3 separate regions of the Homo sapiens genome follow, and all the other regions are linked to region 3. Evidence: promoter capture Hi-C in 16 types of primary human blood cells and fetal thymus (Javierre and others, 2016). All regions are on one chromosome and are shown on one strand. Each heading gives the region's core, a stretch centred on a gene start or on the middle of the fragment in contact. The rest is flanking DNA. Distances are from core to core; before and after follow the strand shown. Region 1 overlaps ATF1 (activating transcription factor 1). Region 2 overlaps GALNT6 (polypeptide N-acetylgalactosaminyltransferase 6). Region 3 holds the start of CSRNP2 (cysteine and serine rich nuclear protein 2).

Region 1 (4,530 bases), core at 481-2,980, 290 kb after region 3:
CCCAGGCCAGGCGCGGTGGCTCACGCCTGTAATCCCAGCACTTTGGGAGGCCGAGGTGGGTGGATCACGAGGTCAGGAGATTGAGAACATCCTGGCTAACACGGTGAAACCCCGTCTCTACTAAAAATACAAAAAATTAGCCGGGCCTGGTGGTAGGCGCCTGTAGTCCCAGCTACTCGGGAGGCTGAGGCAGGAGAAGGGCGTGAACCTGGGAGGTGGAGCTTGCAGTAAGCCGAGATCGCGCCACTGCACTCCAGCCTGGGCAACACAGCGAGGCTCCCGCTCAAAAAAAATAAAAATAAAAATAAATAAAAAATAACCCAAACAGGCCTTTAGAAGGGACATAAGAAATCAATTCTCCACATTAGTTACTATCTATAGAAAGCCTTCCCCTAAACTATTTAGACATGAAATTTCCAGAGAGGCTTCTTTTATATGTTATTTCCTTCAAAAATGAGTTCTAGTATATAACTACTCATTTATATTTCATATTAAATCTATATCATTATACAGAAAAGAATTAGTCATAACCCAATAATAATTAAGAAATAACCAATAATTAAGAAAAATCTGTCACTTTTCTTTTCCTCAAGCATCATAAATTTTTTTTTTTTTTTTTTGAGATGGAGTCTTGCTCTTGTCGCCCAGGCTGGAGTGCAATAGCACAATCTTGGCTCACTGCAGCTTCTGCCTCCCGGGTTCAAGCGATTCTCCTGCCTCAGCCTCCCAAGTAGCTGGGTAGCTGGGATTACAGGCACCTGCCACCATGCCTTGCTCATTTTTGTATTTTTTAGTAGAGATGGGGTTTCACCATGTTGGCCAGGCTGGTCTCGAACTCCTGACCTCGTGATCCGCCCACCTCAGCATCCCAAAGTGCTGGGATTACAGGTATGAGCCACCGCACCTGGCCATAAAATACTTCATTTCTAATCTAATTCTTTAACTACACTGTCTGTTCCTAAGCTTACTCCAAAGCCTTCCACTGAACTTAAGAAAATAAATTGTAAAACTAAGGAATTACTTGTAATTAAAATCAAAAATTTATCTTTAATAACAGCACCAGCAAATAAGACTAAAATTTCCATATAAACACTAAAAAAATCCATGCAGCCACCTCCTTTCACATGGGAGTACCACATAAAGATGCAGCTCTAGTTTTTACAACATTGCCATAATCAGGAGAAGAAAGGAGGAATATAGCTTTTCTTCTAGGAGAGCTGCTTCTAAAAACGAGAGATGACCAAAGGTATTCTGGGACTATAAAATGGGAAAAGTAGAAAGAAAAGGAATCTAGGATGGCTCTTTCTTTCGTACTTTTGTAAGGTGTTAATATGAAGGTAGATAAATACAAATAAGAACTTTCCTCTACTACAAGAGAACTCTTTTATTTGACCTCCATAAAGCATGTGGTAGGTAGGTACTAACTCCATAAAGCATATAGAAAATACCTGGGATAAAAGGGTGCTTTCCCTTTAAAAAAAAAAAGTCCCTCATTTCCTTAAATCATAAGCAATAACTTTCCCTAAAATTGTCTTCTATTTTCACTAGGTATTATATACATGAAACTAGAAATTCTAAAACTTTTCTATTTGCCTGATTTGGTCTGCAGTCTAATTTGTAAGACAACTTTATCTTGGTTTATATATTATAGGTACAGCAACTGAAATGTATCTGAAGACTCAGGGTATAAAAGTTCCAACTCTCGACCACTAAGTCTTCAAATTTCTGTATCATTTGCACATGTGGTGGGTGAATTACAGAAGACTGGGCTGTCTGGATGACCCCCTGAATCTGTACTTGCTCTCCAGGAAGACGTATAATTGTCACTGGCGCAGATCCATTTAATGACATCAATAGAACAAATACAAATTCAATTAACAAAATATATATTGTACCTATGCACATAAGATAGCTGAGTTCTTAACACTGGAAACACATTTCAGAGCTGATTATATTTAATCGCATCATTAACCAAACATTAGGTACCTTCTATTGACCAGAGGCTGAACTAGGGATTGAGAGTACAAACTAACTATAACAAATAGAGTAAGAGTTATAATAGAGGAAAATTACAAAGTACTGTTCTGTGGGAGCAAAGAAAGGGTGTTATTTCATCTGGGTTTTGAATAATTAACAATTACCTGAGGGTATGTATGGAGGGGCAGGAGTTAGGGGACTGGAAGGTATTTTAGGCAGAGGAACTGATTGTGCAAAAACATGGAGAATCTTTAGCACATGCTATTCTGAAGAGATATGGTTGAAAACTAACCAAGAAACCAAGAGACAAAAAGTGAGTGAAACACCAACTTCGGGCAGCATCTTGAAAAAATATATATATATATTTCAAGTAAATGACTGAATCATGAAATTGTAATTTATTTCTGTTGAAATCAGATGCGGTTTCATGGAAATACCATGATAAAATGCTAAACTAAGAAAAGTCCACTCATCATCCCTCCAGGCTCACCTCAGGTCCTACCTCTTCCAAAAAGCTTTCTCAAATATTTTCAGTTAACAGAGATCTCATGCCTTCCTCTGGACTACTCTGGTCCATACCATTACTCTTGGATTTAAATCACAAAATAAAATCCTGGACTACTTCTCAGGACTTGAAAGTAAGCTTCCTTCCTGCTCCCCTGTTCTCCTTCTTCACATTGGGCTCCAAGAATACTGCTTTCCCTGTTTTTCTTTTTTTTTTTTTGAGACTGAGTTTCACTCCTTCCCAGGCTGAAGTGAAGTAGCACGATCTAGACTCACTGCAACCTCCACCCCTGGGTTCAAACGATTCTCCTACCTCAGCCTCCAGAGTAGCTGGGATTACAGGCATGCGTGACCACGCCCAGCTAATTTTTGTATTTTTAGTAGAGACGGGGTTTCCCCATGTTGGCCAGGCTGGTCTCGAACTCCTGACCTCAGGTGATCCGCCCACCTCCGCCTCCCAAAGTGCTAGGATTACAGGCGTGAGCCACCGCACCCAGCCTTCCTGTTCCCTTTCTTCTTTCACTGAAAGTTCTTTTCCTCATCCCAAGACTAGATTAAACAAACCCCAGTCTCATCATCCCTCAAAATGCCTAGGGTCATGAAATTCTGTATAAAATTTATCCAGCCACTAAGAACTGTAAACTCCATTTGTAGCACAAACAATGCCATTCTAACTGACCAAATTCTTGACCAATGGCTTTTGTCATGCCAAGGTTGTGTCCCTAGAATGACACCAGAGCCCCCTTAAAACACCTGCCTGAGAAAGTTCAATTCTACCAAAAAATTTTACTGTTTGTTCCAGCCAAAACTTGACTATAGGCCCCATCCTCACTTTTCTTACAGCATTTTAGAAAACTTGCTGTTATGAATCCTTTCTCTGTCCCATGAGATGTAGACATTCTAAAACCTAGAAATCTTTCTTTGGGCCTGTAAATGTAGTAACCAAGAAAGAAAAGATTTGGTCCCTGTCTCCCAGTCTGTGGGAGAGTAGGAGCCAACTTTGACAAGTGCCAATGAGCAAGCAGGACGGCTAATCATAGTGACAATTCCTTCCCTCCCCCAAACATCTTATGTACTTTTCCTTTAGAACACCCCAATATTTAAAAAGCTTTCCATCTGTTTCAGTGGAGCTGAGCTCAGTTTATGTTGGAGTTTCTCTCCTATACTGCAGTAATCTGATAAAATCTGTCTTGCTGCCTTTAACATATGTCCAGCTCTGTTCCTCTTTGACAGTACCCCAATATGGGCATAGAGAAATTGAAGAATAAGAATAAACAAAGAGCTGGGTGCAGGGACTCACACCTATAATCCCAGCACTTTAGGAGGACAAGAGAAGCCCAGGAGTTCAAGACCAGCCTGGGCAACATAGGTAAAATGCAGTCTCTACAAAAAATACAAAAATTAGCCAGGTTTGGCAGCGCATGCCTATCGTCACAGCTATGTGGGAGGCTAAGCTGGGAGGATTGCTTGAGCCCAGGAGGTGGAGGTTGTGGTGAGCTGTGATTGCGCCACTGCACTCCAACTCTAGCCTGGGTGACAAAGTAATAACTGTCTCAAAAAAAAAAAAAAAAAAAATAGAACCCACAAGTCTTGAGAGTCCAGCTCTAGAGTTACCATTACACTTGGAAAACATTAACAAAACGTCTCCCCACCTTTCAATAACTGAAGCCACTCAGCTAATGGAGAGAGCGTATGATAGGATTAATCTACATTTCTAAAAGACTAAGGGCCATCATTCCTCAAAGGTTTCTGGCAATCCATGTGATTTAATGCAGGCTATGGGTCTGTCAGGTTGAAAAGGAAAATAGGCACCAGATTTTGATTTAGCTAGTGGTAGTCCCTATCCCTTATTACTACGGTTCGTCTAACCTCACAAAATGCTCATTACTCAGGGTCTCAAAGTCCTGATTCTCTTCCCAACCCCACTCTCAAACCTGATAATCTAAATATTGAGAGACCTTTCAAAGGAGGAAAGGGAGGACCTGGTCCCCCAATCTTTTTTTTTTGGTGGGAGGGCGCAGGCAGGGTCTCACTCTGTCAACCAGGCTG
Region 2 (4,251 bases), core at 1,489-3,988, 280 kb before region 3:
TTGCACCACTGCACTCCAGCCTGGGCGACAGAGTAAGACTCTGTCTCCAAAAAAAAGAAGAAAAAAAAAAAAAACATGGAAAAAAAAAGAAGGAAAAAGCTGAAATTCCAAATTATAGAGACTTTCCTTCTCCTAGGCGCCACTCTCCAGGACAGTGACTAAAGAACAGCTTCAACAAACCCCTTTCTCTCCCTTTCCCTCCCGGGATCTCACACACAGGGAAATGGCAAGGCCTTGGGTGACTGCGAGAGGAAGCAGAGACCACCTTGAAACTCGGGTGCATTAAGTCCTTGGCCTTCTCATCTTAATCTGCTCCAGAATAAAAAAATTTAAAAAAAAAAGTCCGTGGCCTCACTGGTGGTCAAGAGACCACCTTGAAACTCAGGTGCATTAAGTCCTTGGCCTTCTGATCTTAATCTGCTCCAGAATTAAAAAATTAAAAAAAAAAAAAATTCCATGGCCTCACTTCCCCTGGAGGGAGAAGGTGGGGAGTCCTCACATGCAGACTGGCTAGGATCCTGCTGCTGCCCTTTGTGCTTCTGCCACCCTGGGCTAGTCACTTTGAGTCTTACTTTCCCCATCTATAAACACTGGGGACAATACTCCCTGTTTCATAGAGTTGTTAACTATCATAGAGAAGATTAAATAAAGAAGTCACCATGAAGACACCTACCTCACCCACACCGGCACACACTCCAGCTCAGTGCTGGGTTATTGTGTGCGTGCATTTGTGGGAGATCAATTGCATGCAACCCCCTAAGCTGCTTAATTTCAGGACCTGCCGTTTGTAGAATGCTGCATTCAGAGCAAGGCCCAAGCTCTGGGCTGATCCCACAGTCCAAAAGGAAAAGGACACACAATTGTCACATCTGTCCCCCACATCTGAAACTGCAGGCAACTCCATTCTGCACAGAACAGAACCGTGGCAGAGATAAACCAAAATGGCAGTTAGTAAAACATAGTAAGGTTTGGAATTCGGTATGTTTCAAGATGGACTGCTTCAGAATAGAGCTATTCTTCGTTTGTTTTTTGTTTTGAGACAAGTCTTGCTATGTCACTCAGGTTGGAGTGCAGTGGCATGATCTCAGCTCACTGCAACCTCCACCTCCTGGGTTCAAGCAGTTCTCCTGCCTCAGCCTCCCGAGTAGCTGGGTTTACAGGTGTGCGCCACCACACCTGGCTAATTTTTGTTTGTTTGTTTTTGGTTTTTTTGAGACGGAGTTTCGCTCTTGTTGCCCAGGCTGGAGTGCAATGGTGCAATCTCGGCTCACTGCAACCTCTGCCTCCCAAGTTCAAACGATTCACCTGCCTCAGCCTCCCGAGTAGCTGGGATTACAAGCATGCGTGCCCAGCTAATTTTGTATTTTCAGTAGAGACAGGGTTTCTCCATGTTGGTCAGGCTGGTCTCGAACTCCCAACCTCAGGTGATCCACCTGCCTCCGCCTCCCAAAGTACTGGGATTACAGCCATGAGCCAGCGCGTCTGGCCTAATTTTTGTATTTTTAATAGTGGCAGGGTCTCACCATGTTGGCCAGGCTGGTCTCAAATTCCTTGGCTCAAGTGATCCATCTGCCTTGGCCTCCCAAAGTGCTGGGATTACAGGAGTGAGCCACCGTGCCCAGCCAGAATAGAGCTATTGTTAATGCTCTGAGGATTTCAGACTAAATTACAGGGCCATGAACTAAAACTCTTCTTTGAAAGGAGCTGGAGGTCTCAGTAGAGACATCTTCCCTTCAAAAAGCTTTCCCCGCTCCTCAAATCCAGGAGATTTGGCCCTTCTTTGGGACCCACACCCCAGCACTACCTCTGTTAGATCATGGATCACCTGCCCTGGAATTGCCTGTTTCCTGGTCAGCCTTGCTTCTGGGTGGTTTGTTCCTTAGGACAAATGGTCAAGCCGGCTGGGCTCGCCACTGTGCCTGGTCCGTGGTAGGTGCTTGGTGCAAGTATTTTCTTAATATAATTAAAAAGCTGCTGGGCATGTTTTCACCTTAAAGAATTCTATCTGCAGAGGAGGTTACAAAGGGGATTAGAGTCAGATGTCCTGCTGCTGATCCAGCAAGCAAGGAGTCACCATTTGTGTATGCCCACCCATCGACGTTACCGTGAAGAGCCTGGGAGACAGGGAATCCTAGACACTGGAAAACAACCGTGCAATGGAGCTGTGGAATTGCAGCTCTGGAAGATGGTGGCTGAGAGGGTGGAGAAACTGAGGGAGGCATCTGAGAGCCTCTGTCAGAATTTTGTACTTGGGCCGGGCGTGGTGGCTCATGCCTGTAATCCCAGAACTTTGGGAGGCCAAGGCAGGCGAATCACTTGAGGCCAGGAGTACGAGACCAGCCTGGCCAATATGGTGAAATGCTATCTCTACTAAAAATGTAAAAATGAGCCAGGCATGGTTGCACACACCTGTAGTCCTAGCTACTCAGGAGGCTGAGGCAGGAGAATCACTTGAGCCCAGGAGGTGGAGGTTGCAGTGAGCCAAGATCACGCCATTGCACTCCAGCCTGGGTGACAGAATGAGACTCCATCTCAACAACAACAACAAAAAGTTTGTACTTGATACGTGACCACAGAAACACAACTCTGAGGTGCTGTCCCTGACATTAGAGAGGGTGCCCAGGTGAACAGGCATAGGATCTAGCACCACAGAGCCAGAGCCCTGGTGAGGCAGTTTTGACCACAGACAGGGCTTCTTTCTTCCTCTCCCCATCTTCCCTGTTAACCTCCTTCCCCAGCTCCGGCTTCTGTGGAATGGCTCAGTACAGCAGGTGTTGGGGGTTTAAAATTCAGGCCTGCTAGAGGCCTGAGAGCCCCTAGCTTGGTGCCCACAGGGGATTGGGTATACAGCAAAGTGGTGGACTGGCCACAATGACACTGTCCCTTCCAGAGCACCTAAAGGAGAAGCTGGAGCAGTACGTGAAGCAGCTGCAGGTGGTGAGGGTGGTGCGGCAGGAGGAGCGGAAGGGGCTGATCACCGCCCGGCTGCTGGGGGCCAGCGTGGCACAGGCGGAGGTGCTCACGTTCCTGGATGCCCACTGTGAGTACCAGGGCACCGGCCTGGGTGTAACCTGGAGGCTCCCTCCCTGCTAGAATGAGCCAGGGCCACAGCCTCCCCAAGGCCCCTTCCTGTTCTCTCTTCCGGGAGTGAAGGAGGCTTGGGACCCACTCCAGGTGCCTCTACCCCTTTCTCACCCCAATCCCAAGGATGTTTCATCAAGAAGACAAACATCCCTAAAACAACTGGTGACCCCAAAATCACTGGAAGTGATTTCCAGTGATCACCGGGGCCCCGGACATTCATCCCTCCCTGTACTCCCATCTGCACCTTGCTCTGAGCTTGGCCCCTCAGAGAGGCCTCCTGCTATGACAGAACTGGCTTGTTTGGGGCTTTCTTCTAGGGCAACATGGAGCCAGGAAGGCCTCCTTCTTGCCCAAAACCAAAACACTTCCCCACTGTTGTGGAGGATGAAATATTTTCCCTAGGAGTGGTGATATATATTAGGGGAAGCTCTAGTCTTGGAGTCAGAATTCTTGGTTTGCATTCTGACCCTGCCCCACTAACAGCCTCAGTTTCCTCATTTATAAAATAGGAATGAGGATACTAACCTTACTGAACAGAAATATTACTCTGAGGGCCGAATGAAGTAATAATACGTGCAGAAGCTCACTGAAAATCTCAAGGAGCTAGACAAATGAAAGAGATTATTCTTCTACAATTAGGGCTGAAGCTTGACATGCGGATGCCCCTGGGAGGGGGAACACCCTCTTCTGAAATCCACACGTGGGCCCGGAGGGCTGGGCCAATGGATCGGCTGGAACCCCGGAAGATACCATCCAGGGCCTCCCTGTGCTTTTGGGTCATCTGAGTTGACCATGTTACTCCCCTGAGACCTCCATTCTCCCTGCCAAAGCTGCCTCCGCCTTTGGGGGTAGAGGGGTGGTAGAAGGGTTTTAGGAAATTCTGTGTGCTCCCTGTAGCTGTGGGGCTTGCTGCCTGTAACCCAGGAGTAGGTGGACTGTCTCTTATCCTCCTGGGCATTCCCTCCAGGATGCAGCTTGGGCTCTGCTGTGGGCAGGGCCCTGACTGCTGCCTCCTGGTTGGGGCCTGCAGGTGAGTGCTTCCACGGCTGGCTGGAGCCCCTCCTGGCTCGAATCGCTGAGGACAAGACAGTGGTGGTGAGCCCAGACATCGTCACCATCGACCTTAATACTTTTGAGTTCGCCAAGCCCGTCCAGAGGGGCAGAGTC
Region 3 (4,004 bases), core at 839-3,338:
AGGGGAGAGAACTGAAATTCTTAGCATGTTTTCCCAAGCCATCCAGCCTCTCACTTCTAAAGCTGAGATGGCTTGGTAGCTAGTGGATCTGGCTTCATAGTTTCTTGGTTGCAGTGAAAAATGTACCAGGTTTTGGAACCAGCCTAACGTGAGTTTAAATCCTGCTGTCCATCCATCTATCCAATAAATATCTATCATACTCTTAAATGTCAACTACTAGGCTTTGTACTGTGTGTTGAGGATACAGTAAACAAAACAATTCCTTGCTCTCACCGAATTTAGTCAAGTGAGACAAGACAAAAACAAATACGTGGATGCTAAGAAGAAATATAAGGCACAGGGATAGAAACTAAGGAGAAGCACCATTTTAGAAATATGGTTAGGCATTTGTGCCCGGGAGTTTGAGGCTGCTGTGAGCCGTGATTGCGCCACTGCACTCCAGCCTGGGTGACAGAGTGAAATCCTGTCTCTTAATGCAGGGAAAAAGAAATATGGTTAGGGAAGATCTCGGATATGGGGACATTCGAGCAGATATTATGTGAGGGAGTAAGTATGTGGCTAGCTGGTGGAAGCCAGACAAAAGGCCCTGAGGTAAGAGAATGATTGCCCAGTTGAAGGAGCTGCAATGAGGCCAGTGTATTCAAGCAGAGTATGGAAGGGGGAAAGTAGAAGCAAACAAGATGACAGAACAAAATGAGGGGGCGGGGTGGGGGTCGGGGGACAAGAGAATGCAGCTCGAGCTTGCCGAGCCTTATAGTTCAAGGGAAAGACAACAAAGAAGAAACCAAGGCTATGTGTCCTTGGCAAATCACATACAACTTTTGACTTCTTAATCTTGGTTTTCCCCTTTTTTTTCTTTTTCTTTTTCTTTTTTTTTTTGAGACGGAGTTTCGCTCTTGTTGACCGTGCTGGAGGGCAATGGTGCAGTCTTGGCTCACTGCAACCTCCGCCTCCCGGGTTCAAGCCATTCTCCTGGGTCGGCCTCCCGAGGAGCTGGGATTAAAGGCACGTGCTACCACCCTCGGCTAATTTTTGTATTTTTAGTAGAGACAGGGTTTCACCATGTTGGTCAGGCTGGTCTCGAACTCCTGACCTCATGACCCGCCCGCCTCGGCCTCCCAAAGTGCTGGGATTACAGGCATGAGCCACCGCGCCTGGCGCCCTTTCTTAAAAATAGGTTGCGGAAGGGCGCGGTGGCTCATGCGTATAATCCCAGCACTTTGGGAGGCCGAGGCGGGCGGATCGCCTGGGCCCAGGAGTGCAAGACCAGCCGGGGCAACATGGCGAAAACCCCTTTTCTATTTAAATAAATAAATTAGTTTGCAAAGTTGAGAAGATTTTTTTTTTTTTTTTTTTGAGACGGAGTCTCGCTCTTTCGCCCAGTCTGCAGTGCAGTGGCGCGATCTCGGCTCACTGCAAGCTCCGCCTCCCGGGTTCACGCCATTCTCCTGCCTCAGCCTCCCGAGTAGCTGGGACTACAGGCGCCCGCCACCACGCCCGGCTAATTTTTGTATTTTTTAGTAGAGACGGGGTTTCACCTTGTTAGCCAGGTTGGTCTCGATCTCCTGACCTCGTGATCCGCCCACCTCGGCCTCCCAAAGTGCTGGGATTACAGGCGTGAGCCACCGCGCCCGGCAGCAATTTTTTTTTTTTTAAAGAAAACACTCAAAGCACTCCCTCATATAAGTAGATAACTCAAGATATTGCTTGTATTCTTTATAACCTGCGCAGGCTGCAATAAGTCATATTGCTGAAGACTAAGACCCCATGAGCGAGGAGAAGGGGGGATCATGTTCCTAATGGCGTGTGGTCAGGACACGAAAGAAAAAGGGAGCTTTGGAGGAGAATTCGTTTATTTAAGATCTGTAGCTGAGTCTCCTCTCTTCCCCCATTAAAAGGTTGCAGCAGAGCTGCCGCCTCGGGAGCCGGTTTGCGCGCCGGCTTCGGCTTTGCAGCAGTTACCGCCTACAACTCCCGGCATGCTGCTGGGTGTGGGCCGGCCCGTAGACTCCATTTCCCAGCCAGCCCCGGGTCTCGGTCAGGACGTGCCGGCGCCTATAAGAGCCAGTGCGCTGCGGCCGGATCCTATTGTTAGCCGGAGCCGGGGCGGTTCTGGGCGTCTGCTGCCGGGGGCGCCCGAGTTGCCGGAGACGCCCGGCCCTCTCTGCCTGCCGGCTGGGCTGCCCACCGCCCTCCCTCCCCGCCCTGCCGCCCTGGGAGCTCCCCGGCCGTCGCCGCGGGGCCCGGGACTCGCTCGCTCCTCCCTCCTTCCCACCGGGCTAGGGCGGCGGCGGCAGCGGGGGCGGCAGAGACCATCACGGGAGGAGGCAGCTGCGGCGGGGCCGGTAATGGGCCTAGGGGTGCGGGGCGGAGGGTGCCGCCTCGTCCTTTCTCGGGATCGGCCCTCGGGCGGCCGTGGAGGAGTGGTCAAGCCCAGAGCCGTGCGGATGGAGGGGTCAGAAATGAGAGGCTCGGACGGGAGCGGTCGGGGGGCGGGGAGGTCGGGTGCCGTTGGGAAGGAACCGAGTCGGGAAGAGGCGTGGGAGCGAGGGGCACCGAGGACGCTGGCCCGGACTGCGGGGGCAGCTCGCGGGAGACCGATGGGCGGCTTGGAAGCCTGCAGGATTGCAGATGAGGATTGAGTTCGGAATGGAGTGGAGAATGATGTAGGATGGAGGAAAGTGAAGGAAGGGGAGGGGGAACAGAGGAAAATGTGGGAGGAGTGGTTGGGAATTTGTGAGTAGCAGGCAGGAAGGGATGCGGAAGGCTGGGTAGGGGCTGCAGAGGATTGGAATGAGCGGGAAGGTTAGCAGGAATCAGAGGGAAGTGGGCCGAGAGCTGAAGGGTTCGGCAGGAGTGTTCATTAAAAGGAACTGGTGACTTGACATGTCCCTTCGCTCCGGTTCCTGATGTCTCCCATATTTCTGGCGTCGTGTGGGAAAATGAAAGCATCAATTGCCCTGGTTGCTAGCTTGATCTTTTTTCATAGGCCCAATTACGCAGCCAACTGCCACCCGTCCCTTTTAGTGCTGTGGTCTTGATTCATCCTTTTAAAGGGGTTGAGAGTGGCAGTGTGACACACAAACTGTTCTTCAGAATGAAATGCTAGAAGTTATCCCCACAAGACAACACTGTCCCCTTGTCCTGCAGTTTTCAGTTCAAGGTAAATTCATAGTTCAGATTTTTTTCTTCACTGGCTTTCTGTCTTGCAAATCCACAAAGCCAGGATGTTGGTTGTGCCGGTGTTATAAATGACTGGATATCCTTGAGAGTTAATGCAGCATCATGTTCCAGTTCCCACAAAGATCTGTCTTCCACACGATGGTAGTTTAGGCATGGAAAATTCTAACCTTGTGTTAGTGAATGGGTAAAAATCGGGGAGTGGGGGTGGTGAGTGCACGGCTTTCTTTAAACACCTAACTTAAGCGGGGGGTTTTCACTTGGGTGCTTTGTAAGTTCATGATCCTGGTGATCACAAAGACACATGGATCCATGAAATTCATGGTATATGAGAAACAACCACAGTATCTTGTAAAAGGAGAAACAGGGCAGGTCATTTTATTCAGGTTTATGGTAACACAGCAGCAAGCCTTCCTTCCAACCCAGCTACAGATGGTAGCCCTGACCATCTTACTGGAGGTTTTGATTCCTTGACCTTTAGCAGAAGGTTGGGTTCCAGTCAAGTGAAGAGGCTTTCTCCTGTGAGATGTAGCTTATTACTTTGGACTCATTTAAGAAAGAGACTTATATTACCTAAACTTTGCAAATAGATTCTTCCAGAAAATTTTGCCTGGGCAGTCCCTCTTGCTGCTCTCACATATGCTGTTTTTTTTTGTTGTTGTTGTTGTTTGTTTGTTTGTTTGTTTTGGTGGTTATAGGAATCCTTTTAGGCCTGAAAAAAACTTAGATCTAGTACTAAAATATACATATTCTGGTGGAACTGTTTATTAGGTGCTAGCCTGATGTATTCTGTGCTCTGGATCTTAACTATTTCATATAACTTT

What was found. Contacts are between HindIII fragments. The CHiCAGO score rates a contact against its expected background, and 5 or more counts as called.
Region 1: a fragment that was not itself captured here is called in contact with the fragment with the promoter of CSRNP2 in region 3 in 1 of 17 cell types (M1 macrophages); the score reaches 5.4 in M1 macrophages.
Region 2: a contact is called between a fragment that was not itself captured here and the fragment with the promoter of CSRNP2 in region 3, in 1 of 17 cell types (erythroblasts). The highest score is 5.4, in erythroblasts.

What each region holds. Positions count from the first base shown.
Region 1 is chr12:50,789,724-50,794,253 of GRCh38, reverse strand. The region is part of intron 2 of ATF1 (activating transcription factor 1); the gene reads right to left. Among named protein-coding and RNA genes, the nearest start is that of ATF1, 28 kb to the right of the region's middle. The HindIII fragment of the contact is 1,529 bases long and covers 966-2,494 here.
Region 2 is chr12:51,364,219-51,368,469 of GRCh38, reverse strand. GALNT6 (polypeptide N-acetylgalactosaminyltransferase 6) reads left to right here. Exons shown (of 12, transcript NM_007210.4): 5 at 2,891-3,040; 6 at 4,115-4,251. Among named protein-coding and RNA genes, the nearest start is that of CELA1, 20 kb to the right of the region's middle. The HindIII fragment of the contact is 1,990 bases long and covers 1,744-3,733 here.
Region 3 is chr12:51,081,680-51,085,683 of GRCh38, reverse strand. CSRNP2 (cysteine and serine rich nuclear protein 2) reads left to right here and starts at 2,088. Exons shown (of 5, transcript NM_030809.3): 1 at 2,088-2,345. RefSeq lists an enhancer at 1,037-1,663 and a silencer at 2,037-2,526. The HindIII fragment of the contact is 4,493 bases long and covers 1-4,004 here.